7 separate regions of the Homo sapiens genome follow, and regions 1, 3, 4, 5, 6 and 7 are each linked to region 2. Evidence: promoter capture Hi-C in 16 types of primary human blood cells and fetal thymus (Javierre and others, 2016). All regions are on one chromosome and are shown on one strand. Each heading gives the region's core, a stretch centred on a gene start or on the middle of the fragment in contact. The rest is flanking DNA. Distances are from core to core; before and after follow the strand shown.

Region 1 (3,915 bases), core at 480-2,979, 470 kb before region 2:
CAAATACAACCACACCTCCTTCTCCACTATTACTTTAATCCAAGTCACCATCACCTCATTTGGATTACTGCAACAGCCTCCAAACAGATCTTTGGCTTCCACTCTTACCCCAGTAAAGCAGCCAGTGATCTTTTAAAAACGTAAATCACATTATATCAGTTCCCTGTTCCAAGCCTTTCAATATAAAACCCAAGCCAAAAATCCAAATGAAATGTCTACAAACTCTTGAGAGATCAGATTATTACTTAACTAACTCTCTGACGTCTTATACTACCACTCTCTCCTCTACTCACACTTAGCTCCTGCCACATTGTCCTTCTTCCCGTTCCTTGATCACACCCCTCAGATTGTTCTCAACTTTTGGCCTTTGCACTTATAGTTCCCCATACCCCAAAGGCTCTTTCCCCATATCTCTGCATGGCTTGGGGCCCTGTTCAAATGTCACTTCCTCAGAAAGATCTTTCCTGACCATCCTGTGGCCACTACTCCCCCCAAATCCATCATTCTCAATACTCTACTTTATTTTTCTTCAAAGCATTAAACCCTATCTGACATCTTATTTAGTTGTTTGGTTGTTTATACTATTGACTTCCCCACCTTGCCGTATCTCCGGTGAGTGTCTAGAACACTGCATGGTATACAATAGGAGTTAAGTATTCCAAGAATTTAAGAATGAAAATTTAAAAATAGACAATTATTAGACCTATGAAGAGCCAGTATGAAGGATTAATGTATTTATAGTTTATCTGAAAACAATGGGAAACCATTTGTAGATCTTGAACATGAGAGCAGCAAGACAAGATCTAAATTTTGAAAACCTCATTTGGCTGTTTTGAGAATTCAATGTAGGAGAGCAAGAGGGGAAACAGGAAACGGAAAAAAAACTTGTAGAAATGAGATGGTCACCTGAACTAGATAGTTGGTAGTATGAGGAGAGTAAATTAGAGATATAACAGGAAGTAGCACAGGTAGGATCCGCCTATTGATTAGACTCACGCCAGCTCCTCCTCAACGCTCCCGTCATTCTAGCCACACTTCTATCACAGCGCCTCTCACCCTACATAGCACTTCTCCGCTAATAAATCTGTATTTTCCACTAGAGTCCTCCGGGGTAAGCACGCTATCAAGCATCCCTACAATCTCTGTTAAATGGAGGTCATCAACGCCTGTTGAATGAAGGCCGCCCATTTGGTGGCCTGGAATTCAGAGCAGCAATTTGTCCTAGCACAGCCGTATGACTCTCTTAATGTTTGGGGAAATCCATGGTTCAACAGCGCCGATGCCCGATAAACAACACAGCACCAGTAACCTGTGCCAGGGGCTGTGGACGGGGGCAACACAGGAGCAGGTCACGGGGAAGGGGGATGTAAGCTTTCTGAGCAAACTCCCAGAGCACCCAGGGCAGAAACAGGCGGCTAGAAGCCGGGCAACGCGGGTGCAGAGCACAGACCCACGTCCATGGTTTTCCTACCAGACGGGCCTGGCAGCGGACGCACTGGCCTCCCCCGGGCGGCGCTGGCTCAGCCACCGCGGCACCCTTCATGAGGCCGGTATTCCGCTCTTGCACCTCCCCCAAAGCCCAGAGAAGACGAGACAGACACTCACGCAGGCTAGGTGTCGGGACCGGAGTGGCCGAGTAGACGGCAGTGGAGAATGCACGCAGAGTCCTTGCCCTCGACTGCAGAGACAGCCATGCTGGGAGCGCGGCGGCCGCCATGGCTGCGAGGACGGCAAGCCGGAGGGGACAAGCGGCGTTCAGTGTCAGGGGCGGGCCTGGGGCCGCTAAGCGCAGGCTCCCTGGGCTGGCACCGCCCTAGGCTGGAGAAAGAGGAAACACGTTGGTCTGCGCACTCAGAGCCGAGTCAAATGTGCAGGAAGATTCCCCCAAACTGAAAGAAGTAATGAAAAGAAAACAAAAAAAATCCTTAAAAATCGAGTGAATCAGTTCGTAGAGAATTGCAGATAAAGACCGTAGGGATAGGGGTTGCGGCTCACTGAAGGCGGGCGTGCTCTGGGTGGAACCTCAGTTGATCCGAGAGTCAGGCGGTCTACCCGAGGGACTCTTGTTATTTATAATTGTTGCTTTTCTACATTTACTTGGATTAAAGAAGTCTTCAACTAATGCCAGTAATATGCGCTAAGGGGAGAGAAGCAGTATCCCGAGCCAGAGTGCTTGGGTTTCAAACTTGACTTCACCACTTCTGGGATGTATGATCTCAGACAAGTTAGCATAGACAAATATTTGTGTACAGCGTTGGCATACAGTGAACACCGCGTGTACGTAGCCTATAACTTTTAGCTATATATGGTTAGCTTGTTGTTAGATCAGCTTAGAATTACAGAAAGTCAGAACTCATCAGGACCTAGAAAATAAACTTTTAATGAACACTCTTAAATTTTCTACGGTAGGATGAATTAACATACAAGCCTTAATAAAACAATTCTCGGCCGGACGCGGTGGCTCGCGCCTGTAATCCCAGCACTTTGGGATCCCGAGGCGGGTGGATCACCTGAGGTCAGGAGTTTGGGACCAGCCTGACCAACATGGAGAAACCTGGTCTCTACTAAAAATACAAAATTAGCCGGGTGTGGTGGCACATGCCTGTAATCCCAGCTACTCGAGAGAAGAATCGCATGAACCCGGGAGGCAGAGGTTGCGATGAGCCGAGATCGCGCCATTGCACTCCAGCCTGGGCAATAAAAGCAAAACTCCGCCTCAAAAATAAAATAAAATAAAATAAATTCTCTATTTTCTCTTTATTTTAAAAATTATTTTAATTAATTAATTAATTATTATTATTTTTGAGACAGAGTCTTGCTCTGTTGCTAGGCTGGAATGTGGTAGCAGGACCATGGCCCACTGCAGCCTTGACCTCCCAGGCTCAAGTGATCCTCCTACCTCAGCCTTTCAAGTAGCTGAGGCTACAGGCACGCACCACCACACCCAGCTAATTAAAAAAAAAATTGTTTTTCCAGAGATGAGGTCTCACAGTGTTGCCAGGGCTGGTCTCAAACTCTTGGGTTCAAGCGATCCTCCTGCCTTGGCCTCCCAAAAAAGTGATAGGACTACAGGCGTGAGCTACTGCACCTGGCCTATTTTTTCTATTTTTAAGTTTTTTGTAGAGTTGGGGGTCTTGCTATGTTGTCCAGGCTGGTCCCAAACTCTTGGCTTCATGTGATCCTCCTGCCTTGGCCTCCCAAAATGTCGGGATTACAGGCATGGGTCTGGCCTATTTCCCTATTTTGTCTCAAAGTGACAAAATTATAACAGTAAAAACAACTAAAAATAAACAAAACCGATTCTTGGTAAGCATACAACCAGTAGAGCAGAGGTATGCAGGTGTCCAAGAATATTCTAGCTGTGAACATTCAGTGCGCCATGGACATCAATCAGTAAGGTATGGGAGGGGGACAAATAGCATGAGATGGACAAGTATTTGTAATATTCATCATCTTCATCTTTTCTGGACTTTTACCATCCTGTTATTGTTCCAAAATAGAAGCATGATGTATGAGTTTCCTAGGGGATTGGAACAAAGTACCGTAAACTGGGTGACTTAAAACAACAGAAATTTCCTCTCTCACAATCCTGGAGTCTGGAAAGTCCAAAATCCAGGTGTCGGCAGGGTTGGTTCCTTCTGGAGGTTCTGAGGGAGAATCTGTTCCATGCCTCCCTCCTAGCTTCTAATGGTTGCTGGCACTCCTTGGCTGGTAGACACATCACATCACATCACCTTCTGCCCCCATATTCCAATGGAGTTCTCTCCTCTCCTCGGACTATTTTTAAGATCAAAATCATGGCCTTTTTAATCAGATGGAGGTGAGGTTTGAATCCAGGCTCTGGTTCTTTATGATTTTGGGCAAATCTACCTTATCTTTCTGAGTTTCAGTTTCAAGGAAAATGACAGCAATAAT
Region 2 (3,641 bases), core at 600-3,099:
ACCTTTAGAAATCAAGTTTTCAGCATAAAAACTAACAAGGACATCTATTTGTTGGCACAAATCATCTCAGTCTCCATTCTTTGACTTATTTTAAAACAAACTCAAGAGCAAATGGCTAGAGAAAAACTGCTTCTATTTAATGTGTGTTTTCTAAGTCTAATTTTTTCATTCCTAGTGGCAAGGCCTTTCAAAAGAGTACAAAAACTACACCCAACTTTGCTTCTCATTCTAAACACATCACAACCAAATGGGAAACATTATCAGCCATCTTAACAAGGAGAAAACAAAGCTAAGTGAGGTCAAACCAAAACATTTTTTAATTCATTGTACCTACCTATTTTGAGATCAGGATTTTTCAGATGGAAGTAGTTTGATGAACTTATGCAATAAAATTATGTAATATCATAATTTAACATAATATTTTAGACTAACTTCTCTCTCCTCAAATAGTCACAAGGGTGGCTAATTCACATACAATACCTCTCAGCCACTGGGGAGAGAGTATAATAAACTTAATTGTTTTACATATCCTGAGGCACAGAGAGAAAGGCCAATCAAATTCAAAGAGGTTTACAGTACCTTATATACATATATGATTGAGACAAAGAACTTTCAAGAATCTGTACTGAGGAAGCAAAAATGGGCTTAAGTACAATAGGCCCTGCCTTAAAGTAGAGAGACCGGTCAAACGTAAGCCCCAGCGCCAAAAAAGACAAGGTCTCACTCATCAATCCCCATCTTACAATCAAGAGGCAGAACTTAAATCACTTAAAGCTGTTTTTTCAGATTTGAGCAGTAAAATAAGCTAATAGGCCATTTCCGATTAAGTGGCTTCTCTCAAAACTTATCACAAGTTATGTGAAATGGGTAAAAGTGTTGGTTCTGCATTTTATCAAGTGAGAAACAATAGCATCCTACTTTTGGACAAGCCACTACTTCCAGAGCCACTAGCCCTCCCCCCACCTCCCACTTCTTTTTATATCATTCCTCCAAACTTAGAACCCGAAAAGCTATTCCACAAAACAAAAGCAGCACCAGTAAAAGGGGAGGCCACTGGTTTTGAAAATAAAGTTTGTTCTTTTGCTGTCAACCTGGCAACTTTTTAAAGGTGAAACGTGCCCTACTCAATCGGTTATACTCTTTTCTACTCCCACACCAAATAACCACTCGTTCGACCTCGATACTAAAGGTGAAAAAAGGAGTGGGAGAAATGATTTTGAAAGGAAGGGGCTACGGGTGCAATGGTAAAGACAGATTCTAAGACTGGTTTTGAGCACTCCGTGGCTTCTAGGAGCTGGGAGGCTTTCCTGAGTCTGTCTTGAGAAATGTTTGGCAATCTGACGCATCAGTTTTTAGGAACGGTACACAAACAGCCCCCACAATTGAAGAGCCATGCTTCGGATCCTGGCTCTGGGTGACATCGGCTGGAGGGCACGGGACGGGAGCGCTGGGGCTACCCGGAGAGGATCCGCGACATTTGTTATTGTTTGTGAAGCCCAGGCGGGGACCCGGAGCGGAGTGCTCGGGGGCCGGGGAGTGGAAGGAGAAAGGAGCAGAGGACAAAGATTCCTCCCCGGGTGCGAGGCTCCCTCTCTGGACACATGGGGCCAGTATCACCCCGGGGAATAAGAGGGCCAAGGCCGTCGCCGCAGGTTCCCCGGAGACATTTCCAGCCCCAGAATTAGCCCGGCTTTCCCTGGACACCCAAAGACACCTAAAATCTCCTCCTGCTCCTGCTCGCAGAGTTGGGGCTGGCGCGGCGAGCTCGGGCCCTCAGCCGAGCGCTACATCCGCGAACTCACCTGCCTCCGGTCGCGCCCGCGGCCGGCTCAGCCTCCGCACGGACCGCAGCCGGCCGGGCGCCCGTCAGCTCCCTTCTCCCCGCTCCGCCCTCGCCCCGCCCCCGGGAGGTGGGACCCGCGGCCTCGCCGGAATCTCAGGGCGGCCTCCCTGAACTCTCGCGAGCCTTGCCTCCTCGGCTTCTCGGTGGCTGGGTCGGTCCGACTCGCCCTGACGTCATACGCACCACAGCCGGAAGTAGCCTTCTGTCGTCAACGCCCGTCTTCCCGGCCCCACCCATCTCCGCCTGGTGAAGGCCAGACTGGTTTTGAGGGAGTTGACTGAACTGTCGCCACTTCCCCTCTCACCAGCCTCACCTCACTGCCGTTTTTACGCCAAACCTGTTCAGGCCTCTCTTGAGAGTGGCCTAATGTGTTGCGACATTAGTCACATTCTAAATGTCATCCGAATTTTTCAAACAGTGCAATGCAAAGAATGTTAGAAATGGAAAGAGAGAATTCACGCATTTTTCAGATTGGGAAACAGTTGTCAACAAAGATGGATCAGCTAAGTTGCTCAGTCGGTAGCTGTGGGGACTCGAAGCCACCCAGGTTCCTTGACGCTTCCATTTCACCATGAGGGGACTCCAGAGACTGGAGAGGAACCAGGATTTGTAAATGCCACAAAAAATACATTAAAAACCTGTTTGAGTTTTCTTGGAAAATCTAAAATAACTACAGTACTGGCCTGCTTTATCAGTAGGATCTGAGAATTGTGCAGAAGAGCACTCCCCTATAGGATGACCCAAAAGGGACAACTTTGGGAAGGTTGATGCAATTTGCGTCTGGGGACAAAACTGGCCTTTGGGAAAGCCAAATGAGAGAATGACTCCCAATTATTGTTGGCAAGTTTATCCTCAATATGAGTATTGGAGGTCTTATAAAATATTCTTAGCTTTTAGCTTACTGAGACAACGTATGAAGCTGGTACTGTGCTTGCAAAAACTATCACTTAGAAATGCCACCTGTCATCTTTAGGTTTCCCAAGAGCAGGTGACACGAGCAAAACACCTAGGAAAGAAGCATTACCTCATTTCTCTTTCTTACACTGTGCTTTTTCATACATAGCTTAGTAGTGGGAAAAGCTCTAGTTTGGTAATTAGTGTATTTTTGGGGAGATCAGCTCCACTTATATGGTCATTTTGAAACTCAAATGACAGTTGTCATATACAAGCATAGGAGGTTTAATTGTGATCAGACAAGCTTGACAGGCCTATACACCCTTCTCCCTGTACTGCACGCATACACATACCATTCAAATGCTACGATAAGATTGAGAACAGTGTATGGTTTGTTCCACAGCAAATTTATGTCTTCAAATGTGCCATACTAGAGTAATATGAACTAGTATAGAGTAGCAGTCTAGGTTAATATGGGATAGCCTAAGACTTTGACCTCTAGTTCCTAAATTCTCCTAAATTGAGACCATTGTAAACAAATTTCCCTGGGAAGTTGTTGAAAGTACCTCAACTGAAACAAATTAGAGCTATGAACCAGAATTTTGGTGGTCTATGGACCCCTTTTCAAAACAGTGTTCTTAAATGCATAAACTACCTAGGGTTACAAAGGAAATTGATAATGTTAACATACAGTTACCAAAATACTAAAAAGTGAGTTTGTAATATAATTATGTGGTAAGTAGTAGTAGCATCTAAGATGGCTGCCAATGATCCACGCCTTCTAGTATTCCTGCCTTCTGTAATTCCCTTCTCTAGTAACTTAGTTCTTAAAAAGGAAATATAGCAAAAGTGATTAGGATATCATTTCCGTGATTAGGTTACAAAAATATTCTGGGCTCCATCT
Region 3 (3,836 bases), core at 582-3,081, 290 kb after region 2:
AATTTATTAGAAAAAATGTTTCTTAAAAAAATTTCTGTTTTTTAAGAGACAGGGTCTCACTCGGTTGTCTAGATGGGAGTGCAATGGCATGATCGTAGCTCAATGTAACCTCAAACTCCTGAGCTGAAGTGGTCTATCCACCTCAGCCTCCTGAGAAGCTAGGACTGCAGGCATGTGCTACCACACCCGGCTAATTTTTTTACTTTTTGAAGAGATGGAGTCATGCTATGTTGCCCAGGCTGGTCTTGAACTTCTGGCCTCAAGTGATCCTCCTGCCTTGGCCTCCCAAAGTGCTGGGATTATAGGCGTAAGCCACCATGCCCAGCCCTTTAAGAAATATTTCTTAAAAGTATATAGCCCTACAAAAATAATGTTGAAGAGACCAGACTTACCTTTATATCCAAAATAAAATTTATTTTTCAACGTACAAATTAAAGTTTCTAAGAAACAGTGAGAGTTTATAAATCAAACAGAAAATGATATATAACAAGAAATGGAAAAATAAGAAAAAGGAGAAAATGTCAATTAAAAAGATGAAACATTCAACATCATGTTAAAATGCCATTACTAGATACCTGTGATTTTTTTCAAAAAAAATCTGAACACAGAATAATCAATCGTCTCTCTTTTCCATTTCAGGTCACATTTATAGAATGGATTACCTTGGAGTGCTGCTCTTTTAACTTCATTATTATACCCGGATCATCTTTTTTGCTAGCCATTAGCAATCTAAACATTTGTTCTCGGTACTTGCTCATTATAAGTTCCAAGGCCGACTGATGTTCTTCCAGAGATGTACGTAATTCTATCAAGAATAATATTGTATTTTATTCCAACTTGAGTTAAAAGTACACAAAATATTCTCTTCCACTAAGCAACTTATGAACGGGACATTTTAAAAAGAAAACACAATGCACAAAAATCTAGCCATATAACAATAAGAGACACCAAATGAAGTCCCGTATTAGTTTTTTGAATATTTTAAGCTTGTTTCTTGAGAATCATTTCAACAAAGATGTACTAAACAGCAATTAATATCGGCCAAGGCTCCCTCTATATTAAGGGCCACAGACCTCAAGAGTCTAGTAGAGAAAACAAGCATGTGGTAGGTGGCAGAGTGGAGTGTTAAGTCAAATAGATTTAAGAGATGTCTATGGGAAGAAACTGGTGGAAGCTTTGTAGAAGTACAGTGTGAGTTCCCTCAGTTGAAAAGTGAAGGAATGGACCTTCTAAGCAGGTAGGCATGAAAACAGATGACGTGTTTAGGAAGTGATTGGTGTTGGCAAGAGCAAAGAGTTCACAGTGAAGAAAGCTGTGGGAAGAAGATTTAAAAAAAAGGCTGGGAAATGATTTTTAGGGACCCTGTAAAAGGTAATAAGTATATAATGAAAGTTCTTAGGCAAAAGAATTACATGATCAGACTGATTTTTGAAATATCAATCTGATGGTTATGTTGAAGACAGATTGGAAGGGGGAAGAGAGACTGGAATCAGGGAGATCAGTTTGGACATTTCAGGCAAGAGACTGAGCATCTAATCTGGGGGCCAATGCAGTGGGACTGCAGAGAATGAAGCTGGGTTATTTCATAGCTAACAACAGCAGTGCTAACTGGATATTAAGGGTGAGAATCTAAGAGGATGTCAACCAGGCAGATGTTCATATGTGGGACAGGATAAAGAGCAATAAATACGATTTAGGAATATAGACTAGAAATGGGATTAATGTCAAAAAGTAACGTATCTTACCTTTGTTTTCTTGTTGCAACTCTCTGATTTGTCTGTTTTCTTGCTGGATTCCCATAACTAACGTGGACCGTGGCCGATGTCTCGCGACTTCATTAAGTTCTTGAATTTCTTCCTGATACTAATGGGGGAGAAAAACATGTGGGATGAAAATACCTGCAAATATATATATATATATATATATGATATATAAATATAAATATATCTGAAATATACATATAAAAAATCTGATAAGAGCTTAGTATCCAGAATATATAAAGAACACTTACAACTCAACAATAAAATGAAAATAACCCCATTTTTAAAAGTGGCAAAGGATTTGAATAAACATTTATCTAAAGAAGATATACAAATGGCCAATAAGCACATGAAAAGATACTTAATTAACCTAACTAGTCATTAGGAGAATGCAATTCAATATATCCCACGAGGATGACTGTAATGAAAAAGACAATAACAATTGTTGGAGAGGATGTGAAGAAACTGCAACCTTCCATACATTGTTGATGGAATGTAAAATGATGTAGTTCAGGGGTGTCCAATCTTTTGGCTTCCCTGGGCACATCGGAAGAAGAATTATCACGCTGCACATAAAATACACTAATGCTAACGATAGCTGATGAGCTTTTTTTTAAAAAAAAAAAATCTCATAATGTTTTAAGAAAGTTTGTGAATTTGTGCTGGGCCGCAATCAAAGCCATCCTGGGCCATATGCAGCCAGCAAGTCACAGGTCGGACAAGCTTGGCATAGCTGCTTTGGGAAACAATGTGGCAGATCCTCAAAAAATTTTAACAGAGTTATTATATGACCCATCCATTCTACTTCTACATATATACCCAAGAAAACTGAAAACATATGTCCACACAGAAACTTGTACACAAATATTCATAGCAGCATATTCTTACCAGCCAAAAAAGTAAAATAATCCAAATGCCTATCAGCTGATGAATGGATAAGCACAATGTGCTGTATCCTTACAATGCAATATTATTTGGCAATAAACAGGAATGAAGTACTGATACATGCTATAACATAGATGAACCTTAAAAACATTATGTTAAGAAGCCAATCACAAAAAGCCGCATATTTTATCATTCCATTTATATGAAATGTCCAGAATAGGCAAATTCAAAGAGATAGAAATATTAGTGGTTGCCAGAGACTGAGGAAAGGGGAAACTAGAGAGAGACCACTGATGGATGTAAGGTTTTGTGGTGATGAAAATGTTCTGGAATCAGGTAGTGGTTATACTGCATAACCTGCAAATGTGTACTAAAATCCAATGAACTGTACCCTTCAAAAAAGTAAATTTTATGGTATGTGAATATCTTAATAGAACATGTACAAAAGAAATGCAAAAAGATTTTCCATTAAGAAAATGAGAATCTTATTTTAAAATTGCACTTATTTATTTTCAAGGCATTCTCATGAGACACTTAGTAACATATTCATTATAACACTCCTGGTTCTTAACTTCAGATGTCAAACTCCTTTTTTAACAACTCAATACCAGATATATGTTCACTGAAGTGCCTGAGTCTAGCTGGACAGTTGGTTAGGGATGCAGGTAAATCTGTTTAGGGCAACACAGTTGTAAAACCAAATAACTAAACTTGCTCCACTATTTCCAGTAGCTTTGTTAAAAATACTATCCCAGAATTGCTTCCTTTTACAAAATAGATGAGGAGATTTGGCTGTGAATATACATTTTCCCCCTCTGATTTCCATCATAATGTCAGAGATTTTATAATTTTCTTAAATGACTTGAAAATTTTTATCAGAAGAAGGTTAAAATAGTGTCTAAACTCCGTGGCCCATGGGAATATTCTGTTATACAATAGTAAAAATAGCAAGAAGAAAGCCCTTATGTATTCTTTAATTGGTAGCACTGAATGAAAAATAAGGTAGCAAGTATGGGTACAATAACTGCACAGAGTATAAATCACATATTACCTTGCATCATTTTCAAAAGCTATTTTGTTGTTAAACAGCATCACCTAAGTACTTTTATAAAGAAAAATATGAACATTTCTACATTATACAAGACAGAACAAAATGTGTACCAACATTAGTAAAAGGTATTATCTGGTCTT
Region 4 (3,557 bases), core at 710-3,209, 330 kb after region 2:
CTTTAAAAAAAATCTAACAGGTAGTTCCATTAGCCAGTGTTATTGTGAAAGAATCTCTGACAGAAGAAGATGTGTTAAACTGTCAAAAAACAATATACAACTTAGTTGATATGGAAAGAAAAAATGATCCTCTACCTATTTCCACAGTTGGTACAAGAGGAAAGGGCCCTAAAAGGTACATTTTTTTTTCTTTCTTACTTTATAGATCACATTTACTTGATACATATTGTTTCTCAAGATAACTTATTCCATATGTAAATTCTATTTGAGGACATGTTTATATATATATTTGAGATGAAATAATACAAAATCATAGAAATGGATATATTGTAGCCTAGAATTTCACTATTAAGTACCAAGTAAGAGGAAGGAAGTCCACATTTCATTATTTGTTTTTACTTTACCACTAGAAAGTGACACTTCAATATTATTTAAAGAGTATTTCCAAATCTTTGCTGCAGAGATGAACAATACCGTATCATGTGGAATGAATTAGAAACCCTTGTCAGAGCCCATATCAACAACTCAGAGAAACATCAAAGAGTCTTGGAATGTCTGATGGCATGCAGGAGCAAACCCCCAGAAGAGGAAGAACGAAAGAAACGAGGAAGAAAGAGGGAAGACAAAGAGGACAAGTCAGAGAAAGCAGTGAAAGATTATGAACAGGAAAAGTCTTGGCAAGACTCAGAGAGGTGACTTCCTGGCATTGATATAGCACCATGGTGCCTTTTGTTATATCACATTCTGCATAGAACACTTTCATACATTCAAACCTGATTTAATAGTAGTTCATTTAATACATGTTTATTCATTTTCATTACTGTAATTTTATCATTCTTAAAATCTAGAGGATCTTTCTTGGGCACAAAAAAGTATGAATTTTTACTGTTGGGGCAAAGTTAGTGTTAGTTTTTCCTAATTAACTTCTGAAAATCATAATGCATGATGTTTGGTATCAGTATGTGCTTTATGTGTTGTGAACTTCACAGACATAATTTTATTCCTCTGTTCACTAAATATTTACTGAATGCTTATGATGTGCCAGGCATTTGGCACAAGATCCCTACCCTTGAAGAACATACAGTGTGATGCTAGAGACAGACAAATTAGTGATTGCAGGCTGGGTGCAGTGGTTCACACCTGTAATCCCAGCACTTTGGGAGGCCGAGGCGGGTGGATCACTTGAGGTCAGGAGTTTGAGACCAGCCTGGCCAACATGGCAAAATCCTGTCTCTACTTAAAAAAATACAAAAATCAGCTGGGTATGGGGGTGCATGCCTGTAATCTCAGCTACTCAAGGGGCTGAGGCACGAGAATCACGTGAACCTGGGAGGCAGAGGTTGCTGTGAGCCGAGATTCCTCCACTGCACTCCAGCCTGGGCAATAGAGTAAGACTTTGTCTCAAAAAAAAAAAAAAGTGATTGCAGCAAAGTGTGGAAGGTGCTATTATAAAAATAGGCATAGGATGTCCTTGGAAGCACAGAAGAAGGGCATACAGTCTATTCTGAAAATGTTTCTTAATAGTATACTCTTTTCCTTTAGTTTGTGATTTATATTATGATGTCAGCGTTAAATCTGAAAAACATAAAAGTAATAAAGGCTTATAAATAGAAATAGCGTATCCTCTGGCTATATCCTCTATCCACTTGCCAGAAATCAGACCAACACCAGGTCACTTTTTTTAAAATTAATTAATTTTTATTTATTTTTTTGAGACAGAGTCTCGCTCTATCACCCAGGCTGGAATGCAGTGGCATGATCTCGACTCACTGCAGCCTCTGCCTCCTGGGTTCAAGTGATTCTCATGCCTTAGCCTCTCAGGTAGCTGGGATTATAGGTATGTGCCACCATGCCTGGCCAATTTTTTGTATTTGTAGTAGAGATGGAGTTTCACCATGTTGCCCAGGCTGGTCTCGATCTCCTGACCTCAGGCGATCTGCCCATCTTGGTCTCCCAAAGTGCTTGGGATTACAGGCATGAGCCACTGCGACTGACGAAAAACACATCTTTTTATGATGGAAAATTTCAAACATATGTAGCAAAAGAACAGATAGTTACTCATCATCTACCTTCAATGATTAACAATTCATGGCAGATCTCATTTCATATATATCTTCATCCACTACCTTTACCACTACACCCATAGGAATATTTTGAAGCTAATTCTGGAAATCCTGTAATTGTATCCATTAATAATAGAATACTTTTATTCTCTTTGACTTTAGAAGCTCATGTTTTCCTTAGGGCTGCTGAGCTTCTGAAACACTACTGGCTCACTGTAAGAGGGAAAAAGTACTATCATTTAGGTCCCACTGAGCTTCAAGTACACTCTTGTATATTTTGCAAGTGTTTTTGTTCTCTGATGAAACTCTAAAAGTTTAGAGTTAAGTTTCTGATTTGCAGAACATAAATACATCTACACAATACATAGACTAGAGAATAAATGGGAATAAACTTATTAATCTTATTTGTAATTTGAAATTCAGTGTTATTTTGTTCCTATCTTTAAAAATCAGAATTGTGCAATTTCTTCTGAAGATCACATCATTTCCTACCTTTTAAATTTTAATTTAAGTATCTTCTTTTTTTTTATATTTTACAGCTAATTCCTGAATCATTGCATTATTATTATGAAGGAAAAGGGAAACTTGTATTTAATTCATTAATTTCTGTTACCTGGTTTTAGATTGAGATTTTTGATTAGTCCCTAGGTTTATTTTATGAGATTAGCCATCTTTTATAAAGGTTGATATGCAAAGTTAGTTTAATTATTAGACCATTAGACTTCTAAAAATTTGAACTTTACATTTCATTATTTGTCCCTCTAAAAGATTAAAAGGAATCTTAGAGCGTGGAAAAGAAGAATTGGCTGAAGCTGAGATTATAAAAGATTCGCCTGATTCCCCAGAACCTCCAAACAAAAAACCCCTTGTTGAAATGGATGAAACTCCACAAGTGGAAAAATCAAAAGGTAAGGTACAGCTGTGGTAACTAGGTTTATAAAAAGTTTTCCAGGCCGGGTGTGGTGGCTTACCCCTGTAATCCCAGCACTTTGGGAGGCTGAGGCAAGCAGATCACCTGAGGTCAGGAATTCAAGACCAGCCTGGCCAGCATGGTGAAACCCCACCTCTAATAAAAATACAAAATTAGGCGGGCATGGTGACACACACCTGTAATCCCAGCTACTTGGGAGGCTGAGGCTAGAGAGTCGCTTGCACCTGGGAGGCGGAGGTTGCAGTGAGCCAAGATCGCACCATTGCACTTCAGCCTGGGCGACAGAGCAAGACTCTGTTTCAGAAAAAAAAAAAATTTTCCAATGAAGCTCTGTTTTGTACAGTGTTATTTAATATTGTTGTGTATGTGAGGAAGAGTTCTTAAGTATTTGTGGGTGTTGTTTAGGACATTCTCTGTTTACAACCTGTATTAGTCCAGTCTTATGCTGCTAATAAAGATAAAAATACCCAAGACTGGGTAATTTTTAAAGGAAAGAGGTTTAATTGACTCACAGTTCCAGCATGGCTGGGAGGCCTCAGGAAACTTACAGGCATGGCAGAAGG
Region 5 (3,880 bases), core at 17-2,516, 400 kb after region 2:
TCAATATTTATTTTCTTCTCCATGCTTATTATTATTACTATGATAAACATAATTGTGAATAAAGCACTTTTCATACATAGGATTATTTCTTTAGGTTATATTCCATATGTCCACATTGCCATTAAAATGGTTGTACAAAATATGATATTGGCTGTTTGACTAACAGCATTGGTTACAATAACTAAAAACTTTTATTTTGCTAATCTAATGCATGAGAAATGATATCTCACTATTATATTACTTTTATTTTTTTGCCTATAACCAACCTTTTGCCTATAATATTTGTTGCAAACTATTCCCACTTTGTTGTTTTACTTTCAGTTGAGTTTTTTGTTACATTTTAAAAATAGAAGAAAAAATACATATATAATTTACCATCTTTACCATTTTAAGTATGCAGTTCAGTGGTAGTAAACACATTTATATCGCTTTTTGTTCCCTTCACTCACCCTTTCCCCTTCCCTTACTGGTGTTAGAATTTTTACATAAAAATTTAAAGTTGTAAGAATTAAACTTACTTCATAATTTGCTTTATGTTTTTATATTAATGCATATGTATTTCTAAGCATAGGTATCCCCTGTTCTTAAGATGGTAAATATTCAATTCCCTTTATTTTGGTGAATTTTGAATTCAGATGAATACATTAAGTCATTAAATATAAAATTAATTAATTTATTTTTGAGACAAGGTCTCACTGTGTCACCCAGGCTGGAGTGCAGTGGCACCATCATGTCTCACTGAAGCCTCAAACTCCTGAGCTAAAGAGATCTTCCTGTCTCAGCCTCTGAGTAACTGGGACTATGGATGTAGTTTTTAAAATTTTTTAAATTAAATTTTTTTTTTTTTAAGATGGGGTCTGGCTATGTTGCCTAGACTGGTCTCAAACTCCTGACCTCAAGTGATCCTTCCACCTTGGCCTCCCAAAGTGCTGGGGTTACAGGCGTGAGTCACTGCACCTGGCCCTGGATTTATTTTTAAGATACGTGATAGCTTAAAACTGCTAAACTAGTATTCTCCATGTAAGTAAATAACATCATTTCTTGTATAATCTCATGCTTTCCCATTGATTTCTTATACTTTCTTTTTTATATATTGAGTTCTTACAAATAATCAGGACTGTAGACTGTGGTACTGTGCCTATAGGTACAAAAAACAGGTACAAAACAGCTTCCTTCACATCTAGGTGTTCACTCTGAAACAAAAAGTACAACTCAGAGTTCTTGCCTTAAACAAATTGATGCTAATTAGTTGGGTAATCAGGATGTATACATCCGAAATAATGCACTAAAGTAGACCCACATTACTGCATTTCAAACTAGATTCATAAATGAGAGAAAACAAAGGTAAACTTGGGGGAATCACAGGGGTGAGAAAAAGGACTCCAGGAAGTTTTCCCTGGATTTATTCTCCCTGGTTTTGCCCAACCAAAGTATTATGTCTTCCCAAAAATCAGGAACCACAAGCATGGCAGCATTCTCTGGTGTTAGATGGCAGTTTTCTCTGTGGGTTTTATCCGCTACCTTCTTTGAAGAGATAAAAAGCTGTCAGCTTGTGGAAAGCAGAGTTCTCATGTGACAATTGTGGGTGGTTTTATAGCACCAGGCTGGAAATTTAGCCATTTTGTTTCTTTTGTCTCAAAATTTGCTTTTCCCTGATGTCTGAAACGTGTCTGTTAAAAAAATTGATTTCTTTCTCTTACACATATTTTTTAAAAAATTCAAATTCCTTGAAAAAGAAAAATTTAATAATTATCAAGAATTTTGCCCTGGCTCAGTGTGGCTCATGCTTGTAATCCCAGAACTTTGGGAGGCAGAGGCGGGTAGATCACTTGAGGCCAGGAGTGCAAGACCAGCCTGACCAACATGCAATACCTGGTCTCTACTAAAAATACAAAAAATAGCTGGGTATGGTGGTGGGGGCCTGTAATCCCAGCTATTCCAGAGGCTGAGGCAGGAGAATCACTTTAACCTGGGAGGCGGAGGTTGCAGTGAGCTGAGATGGCACCACTACCCTCCAGCCTAGGCGACAGAGCAAGACTCATCTTAAAACAAAAAACAAAAAACAAAAACAAAAAACAACAAAAAAAGAATTCGCTACAGTTGATGGAAGGGATTGATCTGTAAATGGCAGAGCTGGTGGCCCAGAGGCTCTGGAGACAGCTCTGGTGTGGGCTCAGTCACTGGCATGTCTTATTGCATAGACAGAAACACCTCTGATGCTTGGTTTTCTTATGACATTTCATGCTGCTTTTCTCACAGATAATCATAATCATAATAATAGCTAATATTTATTGAAGTTGGATGTGGTGGTTTATGCCTTGTAGTCCTAGCTCCTTGAGAGGCTGAAGCCAAAGGATTGCTTGACCCTGGAATTCTGGGATGCAGTGAGCTATGACTGCACCACTGCACTTCAGCCTGGATGACAGAGTGAGATCCTCTCTCTAAAAAACAGCAAAACAAAACAAAAAACATGAAAGGTTATTAAGCACTTTATGCCAGGCACCACATCAAGCCCCTTAAATGTAACTTCTAATTTAAACCTCACAAAGACCACATGAGATAGATACCATTATTGTCCTCATTTTACAGATAAGTAAAACGAGGCCCCAGAGGTTATGTATTTGCATAAAGCCTGGTAGAGAGTAAATTGTGAATTAGTAACTCATCCCAGGTCTATGCAATACTTGTGTCCTTAACTATTGTGGCATACAGGTATGGGATTCATTTAAGTGCCTGATAAATGCTTTCTGACATCTACATGGGAACATTAAATTGTATTTGGGGAAGAATCACTGCAAATTGAAGTAGGCAAGATTTTAGATATGCATACTTTTTTTTGAGACAGGGTCTTACTCTGCCGTCCAGTCTGGAGCACAGAGGCGTGATTTTGGCTCACTGCAATCTCTGTCTCCCGGGTTCACGCCTCAGCCTCCTGAGTAGCTGGGACTATAGGCATGCACCACCACGCCTGGCTAATTTTTGTATTTTTGGTGGAGATGGGGTTTCGCCATGCAGCCCAGGTTGGTCTCCTGGGCTCAAGCAATCCGCCTACTTTGGCCTCCCAGAGAACTGGAATTACAGGTGTGAACCACAGTGACTGGCTCATTTTTTTCTTAAAACTCCCCATTCTTTTCTGTTATAGAGACTGGGCCATTTTCTCTTTTCTTCAATATTTTGATGATTCTCAGCTCTAATTGATCATGGTTCTTAGAACCAAATGGTATCAGTTGTATCAGTTCTTCATAAAATACTTCTAATTACAACACCTCTCCTCTTTTTCATTTCCAAGCCCTTACAGAATTATGACATTAGGGTCAGATCAAGCCATAAGCGATTCAGCAGCAAGTAGTGTAAATACTTCTAAGAACTGTGACCCTCAAATAATATATATATATAATATTCACCATATGATTATGGTGAATATATATAATATTCAGAAGAATATTTTAATGGGATGTGAAGTTGGGAGTTTCAGTGGAGGCATCGAAATACCATCAGTAAGACCAAGATGCAAATTTTGAAAGGAAATATTTGACCACAAGGGATACAATGCTTAAAAATCTTTCTCCCAGACCAAGGATATGAAACAGTTGGGCTGTTGGAGATGTGAGTGTTTTGGAATGAGCTACTGCTCTGTTGCGTCTCACGCCGTACATACCCAGTGCAGGAGAGAAGAACGTGTGCATGCATGTGTGTGTGCGTGTGTGTGTGTGTCAGTCATGGGGAGGGAAGTCTTTGACTCTCAGATCTAATCTAGTGAGAAGAACTTCAAAGGCACCACATGGAAAGCTTATATTTGTCTCCTGCAGGTAGGGAAACACAGTAGATTGATGTCAAACTCTGGCTTTGGAAACAGAGAGGTTAAGGGTCAAAAGATGTG
Region 6 (4,014 bases), core at 1,122-3,621, 350 kb after region 2:
ACATTATTTCCTGGATTTCTTTGTTAGGACACCATTTCAGAGAACTGCTGTTGACTAAACATAAGGCCCTATTATACCAGGATATGATAGTAGACCCTGGTCTCAGGGTAATTAATACGATCTGTTCAGGGTTACTAGAGTTTAGATAGTCAGTGAGTTTAGCAAAAAATAAACCAATTCTCTCTCTCCTTTTAATGAATGAGTAGAAACTGTTTTTTGTGCGCAGAGTGTAAGTGTGGCAGGGACTACTTCTGGGTAGCTTCAGTTCAATGGTCAAAGGCATCTGAGCAACCAGACCCCCGGAATCAGTGGCACAGAGAATAAATTCCTGAGGGGAATATTGGAAATCCAGTTCTAGGGGATACCCATACAATATTTGATGAGTCATGTTAAATTGCAGCCAGCTTTCTGGGCCCGAAGGATACTCATTTACTGATTTTATTTCAAGTGTCAAGTGAGTTGAGTTGCCATCTTCCTGGTCATAAAATGTGTCAGGAGGGATCGGGAAATGAAATGTGTGCCCAACAGTTGCTGTTATCAATTGGATTGAATTAACAACTGTTGGAAATGTGTTGGGTTGACCTAGAAGAAGCAAACAAGAAATAAATTTCAACAAATACTACTCTTTATTTAAATGCTTAAGGTTGTCTTGATGGTTAACTTGTTTCCTCCCTTAGTTTTGCATAGGGCAGTAGGAACACTTCTATTGATCTCCTCTCTGTCTCCCTCTCTCTGTCTCTCTCTCTCTATATATATATACACACACACAAATATATATATATACAAAGATATATATATACACACAAAGATGTATATATACACACACATATACACAAAGATATTAGTATTACTAACTAATCAAATCTGGTTTAGGGGACTTCAGAAAAACAATATTTTGGCAAACAGCCTAAATTCTTAAACTGATTTTTTTGTTTTTTGGTTGAAAGTTGAACAGGAAAAGTTTTTTGTTTTTTTTTTTGAGATGGAGTCTCGCTCTGTCACCCAGGCTGGAGTGCAGTGGCATGATCTCGGTCACTGCAAGCTCTGCCTCCCGAGTTCACGCCATTCTCCTGCCTCAGCCTCCCGAGTAGTTGGGACTACAGGTGCCCGCCACCACGCCCAGCTAATTTTTTTTTTTTTTTTTTGTATTTTTAGTAGAGACGGGGTTTCACCGTGTTAGCCAGGATGGTCTCGATCTCCTGACCTCGTGATCTGCCCACCTCGGCCTCCCAAAGTGCTGGGATTACAGGCGTGAGCCACCGCACCCGGCCCAGGAAAAGTTTTAAGATCAGTACATATAAGTTAGATAATGGTACACGTAAGTTACATAATTGAACAGAATCATAGCAACAAACTAGTACTCCAATTTCAATTAACATTTAAATCTCAAACTACAAAACATTTCAAGCTCTGCATAGATACATTTTGGTGTTTTCTGAGGAAGATGAGATAACATCACAAAAATGGGGCTATGGTGCAATATAACAAAGGCAGGTGGCTTTAGATATTGTGGGGAGCATTAAGTTGGAAAGAAGAGTATCACGCTACTGAAAAAAACTCAATGAATCAAGAAGATAGAGTAGTGCAGTCACTTGATAAATAGACTATTTGAAAGTGACATCTAAGTACTGTTGCATATTTAATGGGATTGATTAACAATGTAAGTCGTAACTACTAGGGAGATCTGTTTCTACTGAATTTCAAACAGCATCAAGGTCCATCAGCCTTACCATTCCATGATGATAGAATTGCTTACCTGGGTGTGACGTGGTCTCAGGTTTCTGAGATTCAGAATGCAGAGCACATGTTCTCAGCATCTATGTTACTTGAAGCCAGTCATATTTAGTGACAGGCAAACTGGTTGTACCTTGTCTAATATTTCTGTAAACTTTGTAGTTACTCCAAAGGAACCCCTTTGTTGTTGTTGTTGTTTTGTTTTTGTTTTTTGAGACAGGGTCTCACTCTGTTGCCCAGGCTGGAGTGCAGTGGCACAGTCATGGCTCACTGCAGCCTCAACCTCCCAGGCTCAAGTGATCCTCCCCCTCAGCCTCCTGAGTAGTTGGGACTACAGTCATGCGCCACTACGCCTGCTATTTTTTTTAATTTTTAAATTTTTGTTTGTTTTTGTAGAGACAGGCTCTCACTATGTTGCCCAGGCTGGTCGCAGTTTCATGGGCTCAAGCAATCTTCCTGCCTCAGCCTCCCAAAGTGCTAGGATTCAGGTGTGTGCCACCACACCTGGCCCTTAATTTAGACATTTAATTTAAACAAGGAAATCTCCCCCAAATTAAAGATCAATGAAAATTTCCATGGAAATTACCATACAAGTATGTTTTGATTTGAAACAAATTCTAAAGCAATCACTCTGATATGAGTTAGCTAGTTCAGAGAAGAGAAGATGAGCAGAGATGATAGCTTGCATTTAATGAACCATGTGCCAGGCACTGTGCTAAGTACATACTTCATTTTATCTTCACAACAAATATATTGGAATAATTATCCTCAGTTTATAAATGATAGAAGTAATATACTAATGTGAATACCTAATATTACACATATAGTAAATTATACAGCTAGATTTCAAACCCGTTTCACTATAGATACTGAGTTATTAATCATCATACTGCCTGTTTGCAGTATATCATGAGATAAATAAACTAAATGAAAGAGGATGGTTTTAACTTTAGTTATAGAGTTTGAATCTGTTAGCAAGCATTTTTCTAACTCTGGTGGTCTGTAAGACTGCAACAGGGCCAGGCACGGTGGCTCACGCCATAATCCCAGCACTCTGGGAGGCCGAGGCAGATGGATCACCTGAGGTCAGGAGTTTGAGACCACCCTGGCCAACATGGTGAAACCCCATCTCTACTAATAATACAAAAAAAATTAGCCAGGCTTGGTGGTGGATGCCTGTAATTCCAGCTACTCGGGAAGCTGAGGCAGGAGAATTGTTTGAACCCGGGAGGCAGAGGTTGCAGTGAGCCAAGATCACACCATTGCACTCCAGCCTGGGCAACAAGAGCGAAACTCCGTCTCAAAAATAAAATAAAGACTGCAACAGATGAATGATTTAGGAATAATAATAACTGGACAGAGTAATGGCTTGAAGCTCCTTCCAGGTTTGTGAGTCTTTGATCAATCTATTGTAAACACAATACACATTAAATAATGTGTATAAGGCATAAGATGGGTACTGTATTTTGTTATTGACTTTTCTTTTTTTTTTTTTTGAGATGGAGTTTCGCACTTGTTGCCCAGGTTAGAGTGCAATGGCGCGATCTCAGCTCACTGCAACCTCTGCCTCCCGGGTTCAAGCGATTCTCTTGCCTGATCCTCCGGAGTAGCTGGGATTACAGGCACCTGCCACCACGCCTGGCTAATTTTTTGTACTTTTAGTAGAGACGGGGTTTCACCATGTTGGCCGGGCTGGTCTCAAACTCCTGACCTCAGGTGATCCTCCTGCCTTGGCCTCCCAGAGTGCTGGGATTACAGGTATGAAACACCACACCCGGCCTGTTGTTGACTTTTCTTACATGATATATTCTTAAAGTTTTTTCTTCCTAAAAACAACTCTATTCCTTGAAAAAGTTGGAAAATATAGACAAATGTAGAGAAGAAAATCAAGCACATGTAATTTCATCACACGGTTACCACTAGGTTACTCTGTTTTAATTATTTAGTTGGTTGCTGCTTGTTAGTATAAATATTCTCTGAAAAATATGGCAAAGAGAAAGCTCAACAACTCCCACAATCTTACCTTGTACCTTATTAAAGTCAGAGATAGTCCTGTATCTTGCTGTTAATACGTTTTTGGAGGTATGTGGGTAACTTATAAACATGTCAGTAGAATCCAAGTTAAGTACTGTATTGCCTGGCAAAATCTGGCTAGTTCTTGAGAATCCACTGAAAGCTAAATGTTCTGTGCCTCAGAACCAGTCACTAAGAATATGCATCATAGTTTTTGAGCCCATATTTTCAGGTAACTCAAATGCATTTGAAAATTTAGACACCTCA
Region 7 (3,672 bases), core at 909-3,408, 380 kb after region 2:
GAGGAATTGCCACACTGTCTTCCACAAGTTGAACTAATTTACACTCCCACCAACAGTGTAAAAGCGTTCCTATTTCTCCACATCCTCTCCAGCACCTGTTGTTTCCTGACTTTTAATGATTGCCATTCTAACTGGCATGAGATGGTATCTCATTGTGGTTTTGATTTGCATTTCTCTAATGACCAGTGATGATGAGCTTTTTTTCATATGTTTGTTGGCTGCATAAATTATCTTCTTTTGAAAAGTGTCTGTTCACATCCTTCACCCACTTTTTGATGGGGTTGTTTTTTTTTTTCTTGTAAATTTGTTTAAGTTCTTTGTAGATTCCGGATATTAGCAGGCTGTAATTCTTTACAAGAAATAGTCTCCTTTCTAAATTATAAATTACATGTTTTTTTAAGTTAACAAAACACATGTGTGTCTTAAAATTTTTCCCACCGGTGACAGAGATCCTAGTGATAGAGAAAAAGGCTTTATTCATCTGTTTAAAAGGTCCCTGTAAATAGTAGGCCCTAAACAGAAATTACTCATGATAGACACAGGTGACATTGGTAGGGCTTGGCCAGTTCAGTCAGTTGATAACTAAGATGGTCAAGTTTATGAAACAGAAAGATCACAAACTAGCAAGTGTTGGAAAACTGCTGGTAAGACGGGGAGAATAATTTTGTTTCAAGTTAAGAAAAACTGACACTTGTGGTTTCCGTGTGAGAGGAGTCAGTACTCAGTTTGAGCAACTTCTGCAAAAAAAAAAAAAAAGGTACCCTCCTGGGTTGAATCCAATTGAGGCAAGCCAACTGATAAAAAATACAAGCATTGTGTGGAAAGGAGATACTAAAAAACACTCTTTTGTGAAAAAGATACAAACTTCAATCAAGATAAATAAAACCATTGGAATAAGCTCTTCTTATATTAAAGAAGTAAAGTCTTAAGATAGTCTTTTATGGTTTATTATTTTATTTCTAATTAAGTTTTATTGTAATAAAACTTTATTTCTAAATAAAATCTTAATTAGAAATTAATGCTTAGCAAGCTTACTAAAGTACACTTTTTTTCCTCCTTTTTGAGACAGGGTCTTGCTCAGTTTCCCAAGCTGGAGTGCAATGGTATGAACATAGCTCACTGCAGCCTCAACCTCCCAGGCTCAAACAATCCTCCCACTCCGGCCTCCTGAGTAGCTGGGACCATAGGCGTGTGCCACCCCACCTGGCTAATTAAAATTTTTTTTTTTTTTTATATAGAGACAGGAGCCTCACTAAGTTGCCCAGGCTGGTTTCAAACTCCTGGGCTCAAGCAGTCCTACCACCTCAGCCTACCAAAGTGTTGGAATTACAGATATCAGCCACCACACCCAGCTAAAGTACACCTTTAATGTTAGGCAGACAACAGTTTCTATGAAGAAAAAGGGTGAGAGAGCTGCATGTGGTGGCTCATGCCTGTAATCCCAGCTACTGGGGAGGCTGAAGTGGGAGGGTTGCTGGAGTCCAGGAATTTGAGGTTGCAGTGAGCTATGATAGTGCCACTGCACTCCAGCCTGGGCAACAGAGTGAGACCTTGTCTTTAAAAAAATAAAAAGAAAAAGGGTGAACTTGGGAAGGAGAGTAGGATAGAGGAGATAGAAAAAAGAGATTAAAAGTATGCATTGTCTCTACTCTCTTACCTTGGGAGGTAAGGAAAAAAAACATGTCTGTTGGGGTCTGACAATACATTATCACCATTTACATTTTAGTTGTCCCTGAGTTCTGGTGGAAAGGCAAAGTTATCCTTAATGGGGGGATTACTTCTAAATTGCAGGCTGTAATTTTACAACAGTTCTCCCCTGTAGACTCATGTGCCTGCCAGAAAAGTAGGGCTTCCGTGAGGTATTCACCCAATTGCCCTTCTCTGGAATCTGGGGCCCACCTTTGGGAACTACATGTCTCCTGGCATCAATTCATCCTCAACAGGTAGCTACCCTCCCACCCCTGCAGCCCACACTCTTTCCTGTACTTTTCTTGATCTAATTGCCTGGACCCTCCCTGCCCTAGATAACTGGTGTCTCTTAGAGTGTCTCCAAATGTAAGAAACACACCTAGGCAGACAATTTTAAAGTAAGGGAGGTTTAGATTAGATTTTTAAAAAACAAGTATTTTTTAAAATTAATATTTGAATTTTTTGATTTAATATTAATTTCTCCTTGATCTCTGCAAATCATGAAATGCATGAAGGTAACTTCAACCAAGCCAGTGTGATGAGAAACTGACATCTTTACCAGAGAAGAAAATGTTGAAAGTAGTTTCAGGGCTGTCATATACCGAGTCATATCTTTTTAACAAAAATATTGTAATTATATTGTGAGAGTCATTGTATTTTATCTCATTTCATAATCTTATTGCTCTTACTCTCCCTCTCATCTCCAAAATCTCTCAAAAAATAACAAGTACTTTCATTGAATCATTACTATATGCCAGAAGCAATGTAACTTCTTCACATGCATTGACTCATTAAATAATCATAAAAATCCTATGAGATAATAACCCTTTTCTTTCCAATTTATGGATGATAGAGGCTGGGTGTGGTGGCTCACACCTGTAATCCCAGCACTTTGGGAGTCCGAGGTGGGAGGATCACTTGAGCTCAGGAGTTTGAGACCAGCCTGGGCAAAATAGTGAGACCCTGTCTCTACAAAAAAAAATGTTTTAAAAATTAGCCAGACGTGGTGGTGCACACCTATAGTCCCAGCTACCCAGGAGGCTGAGGTGGGAGGGTCATTTGAACCCAGGAGTTTGAGGCTGCAGTGAGCTGTGATTGCCCTGCTGCACTCCAGCCTAGGTGACAGAGTAAGACTCTGTCAAAAAAAAAAAAAAAAATATATATATATATATATATATATATATATTTATATATATGTGTGGTATAGTTATATATTATATATAAATATATATAGAGAGAGATGATGGAAATAAGGCTCAGAGATGTTAACATTCCCAATAATAGACAAACTAGTAAGAGGAGAACAGGGATTAGATCCCAGAGGGTTATGCTGCTGGGCCCAAACACCCAACCACTAACTTCAACTGTCTCTGCAGATTTTTGATGAGTTACACTGCAGAAATGGTCAGCCTACTTCTCATCTTTGTTCTGATTCATGCTGCTTATAAACATGGCTGGCAACCTAAGGCTTCATACACATGTCCTCTTCACTCCTGCCCTGTGTCCTAATTTCCTGTCATCTGTGTTCCTTATGTTCTCCTTGAGGTCCTCTCATGTGATGCCATAGTACTCTGAGCACTATGTCCAGGGAAGCTTACTTCTCAGCTGGTTGGTGGATGCACTGCTGATCATCCTCCCTGTCTAGATATCTGAATCTTTAGGAAATCTCATGTCAACCAGAGATAGAGGAAAATGGGAAGACTGGGTCTCCTGGATCTGATTATTCCCTGTAGATACTGGAAAAGGGACTAGCCTTCTAAGAAGAGCCACTTTGGATTTCTTATGAAGCTGTGGCCCTCAAAATTCTTGAACACTACCGTAAGAAATAGATTTCTGTTGCAACTTACAACACATATATTTACATACAGAGAATTGAAAATAACATGTCATAAAACAACACTTACTTACTATGTAGAATGTGCTCTGAAAGTTTCTATTCTGTTCTATTCTTTCTTTAAAAAAAATACTGGTCGAAATCCAGTA

What was found. Contacts are between HindIII fragments. The CHiCAGO score rates a contact against its expected background, and 5 or more counts as called.
Region 1: a contact is called between the fragment with the promoter of MRPS35 here and the fragment with the promoter of STK38L in region 2, in 4 of 17 cell types (fetal thymus, total CD8 T cells, naive CD8 T cells and 1 more). The highest score is 6.5, in fetal thymus.
Region 3: a contact is called between a fragment that was not itself captured here and the fragment with the promoter of STK38L in region 2, in 2 of 17 cell types (neutrophils and monocytes). The highest score is 6.0, in neutrophils.
Region 4: a contact is called between a fragment that was not itself captured here and the fragment with the promoter of STK38L in region 2, in 3 of 17 cell types (neutrophils, naive CD8 T cells and M2 macrophages). The highest score is 7.2, in neutrophils.
Region 5: a contact is called between a fragment that was not itself captured here and the fragment with the promoter of STK38L in region 2, in 10 of 17 cell types (neutrophils, naive CD4 T cells, activated CD4 T cells and 7 more). The highest score is 11.8, in neutrophils.
Region 6: a contact is called between a fragment that was not itself captured here and the fragment with the promoter of STK38L in region 2, in 1 of 17 cell types (neutrophils). The highest score is 6.7, in neutrophils.
Region 7: a fragment that was not itself captured here is called in contact with the fragment with the promoter of STK38L in region 2 in 2 of 17 cell types (neutrophils and total CD8 T cells); the score reaches 5.9 in neutrophils.

The regions. Positions count from the first base shown.
Region 1 is chr12:27,708,646-27,712,560 of GRCh38, reverse strand. It overlaps MRPS35 (mitochondrial ribosomal protein S35), which reads right to left and starts at 1,729. Exons shown (of 8, transcript NM_021821.4): 1 at 1,606-1,729. The coding sequence starts at 1,717. It overlaps MRPS35-DT (MRPS35 divergent transcript), which reads left to right and starts at 1,814. Exons shown (of 5, transcript XR_001749448.2): 1 at 1,814-1,898. RefSeq lists enhancers at 1,309-2,098, 2,109-2,188, 2,219-2,298. The HindIII fragment of the contact is 2,856 bases long and covers 1,374-3,915 here.
Region 2 is chr12:27,242,494-27,246,134 of GRCh38, reverse strand. It overlaps STK38L (serine/threonine kinase 38 like), which reads right to left and starts at 1,849. Exons shown (of 14, transcript NM_015000.4): 1 at 1,803-1,849. RefSeq lists enhancers at 441-490, 3,079-3,138 and a silencer at 1,781-2,020. The HindIII fragment of the contact is 3,512 bases long and covers 1-3,043 here.
Region 3 is chr12:26,954,570-26,958,405 of GRCh38, reverse strand. FGFR1OP2 (FGFR1 oncogene partner 2) reads right to left here. Exons shown (of 7, transcript NM_015633.3): 3 at 1,746-1,863; 4 at 663-805. Among named protein-coding and RNA genes, the nearest start is that of FGFR1OP2, 18 kb to the right of the region's middle. The HindIII fragment of the contact is 1,309 bases long and covers 1,177-2,485 here.
Region 4 is chr12:26,910,592-26,914,148 of GRCh38, reverse strand. It overlaps INTS13 (integrator complex subunit 13), which reads left to right. Exons shown (of 17, transcript NM_018164.3): 13 at 21-175; 14 at 462-692; 15 at 2,832-2,971. Among named protein-coding and RNA genes, the nearest start is that of INTS13, 26 kb to the left of the region's middle. The HindIII fragment of the contact is 9,163 bases long and covers 1-3,557 here.
Region 5 is chr12:26,841,162-26,845,041 of GRCh38, reverse strand. No RefSeq gene overlaps it. Among named protein-coding and RNA genes, the nearest start is that of ITPR2, 9.9 kb to the right of the region's middle. The HindIII fragment of the contact is 5,050 bases long and covers 1-3,791 here.
Region 6 is chr12:26,892,242-26,896,255 of GRCh38, reverse strand. No RefSeq gene overlaps it. Among named protein-coding and RNA genes, the nearest start is that of INTS13, 44 kb to the left of the region's middle. The HindIII fragment of the contact is 5,632 bases long and covers 1-4,014 here.
Region 7 is chr12:26,864,257-26,867,928 of GRCh38, reverse strand. No RefSeq gene overlaps it. Among named protein-coding and RNA genes, the nearest start is that of ITPR2, 33 kb to the right of the region's middle. The HindIII fragment of the contact is 2,252 bases long and covers 1,033-3,284 here.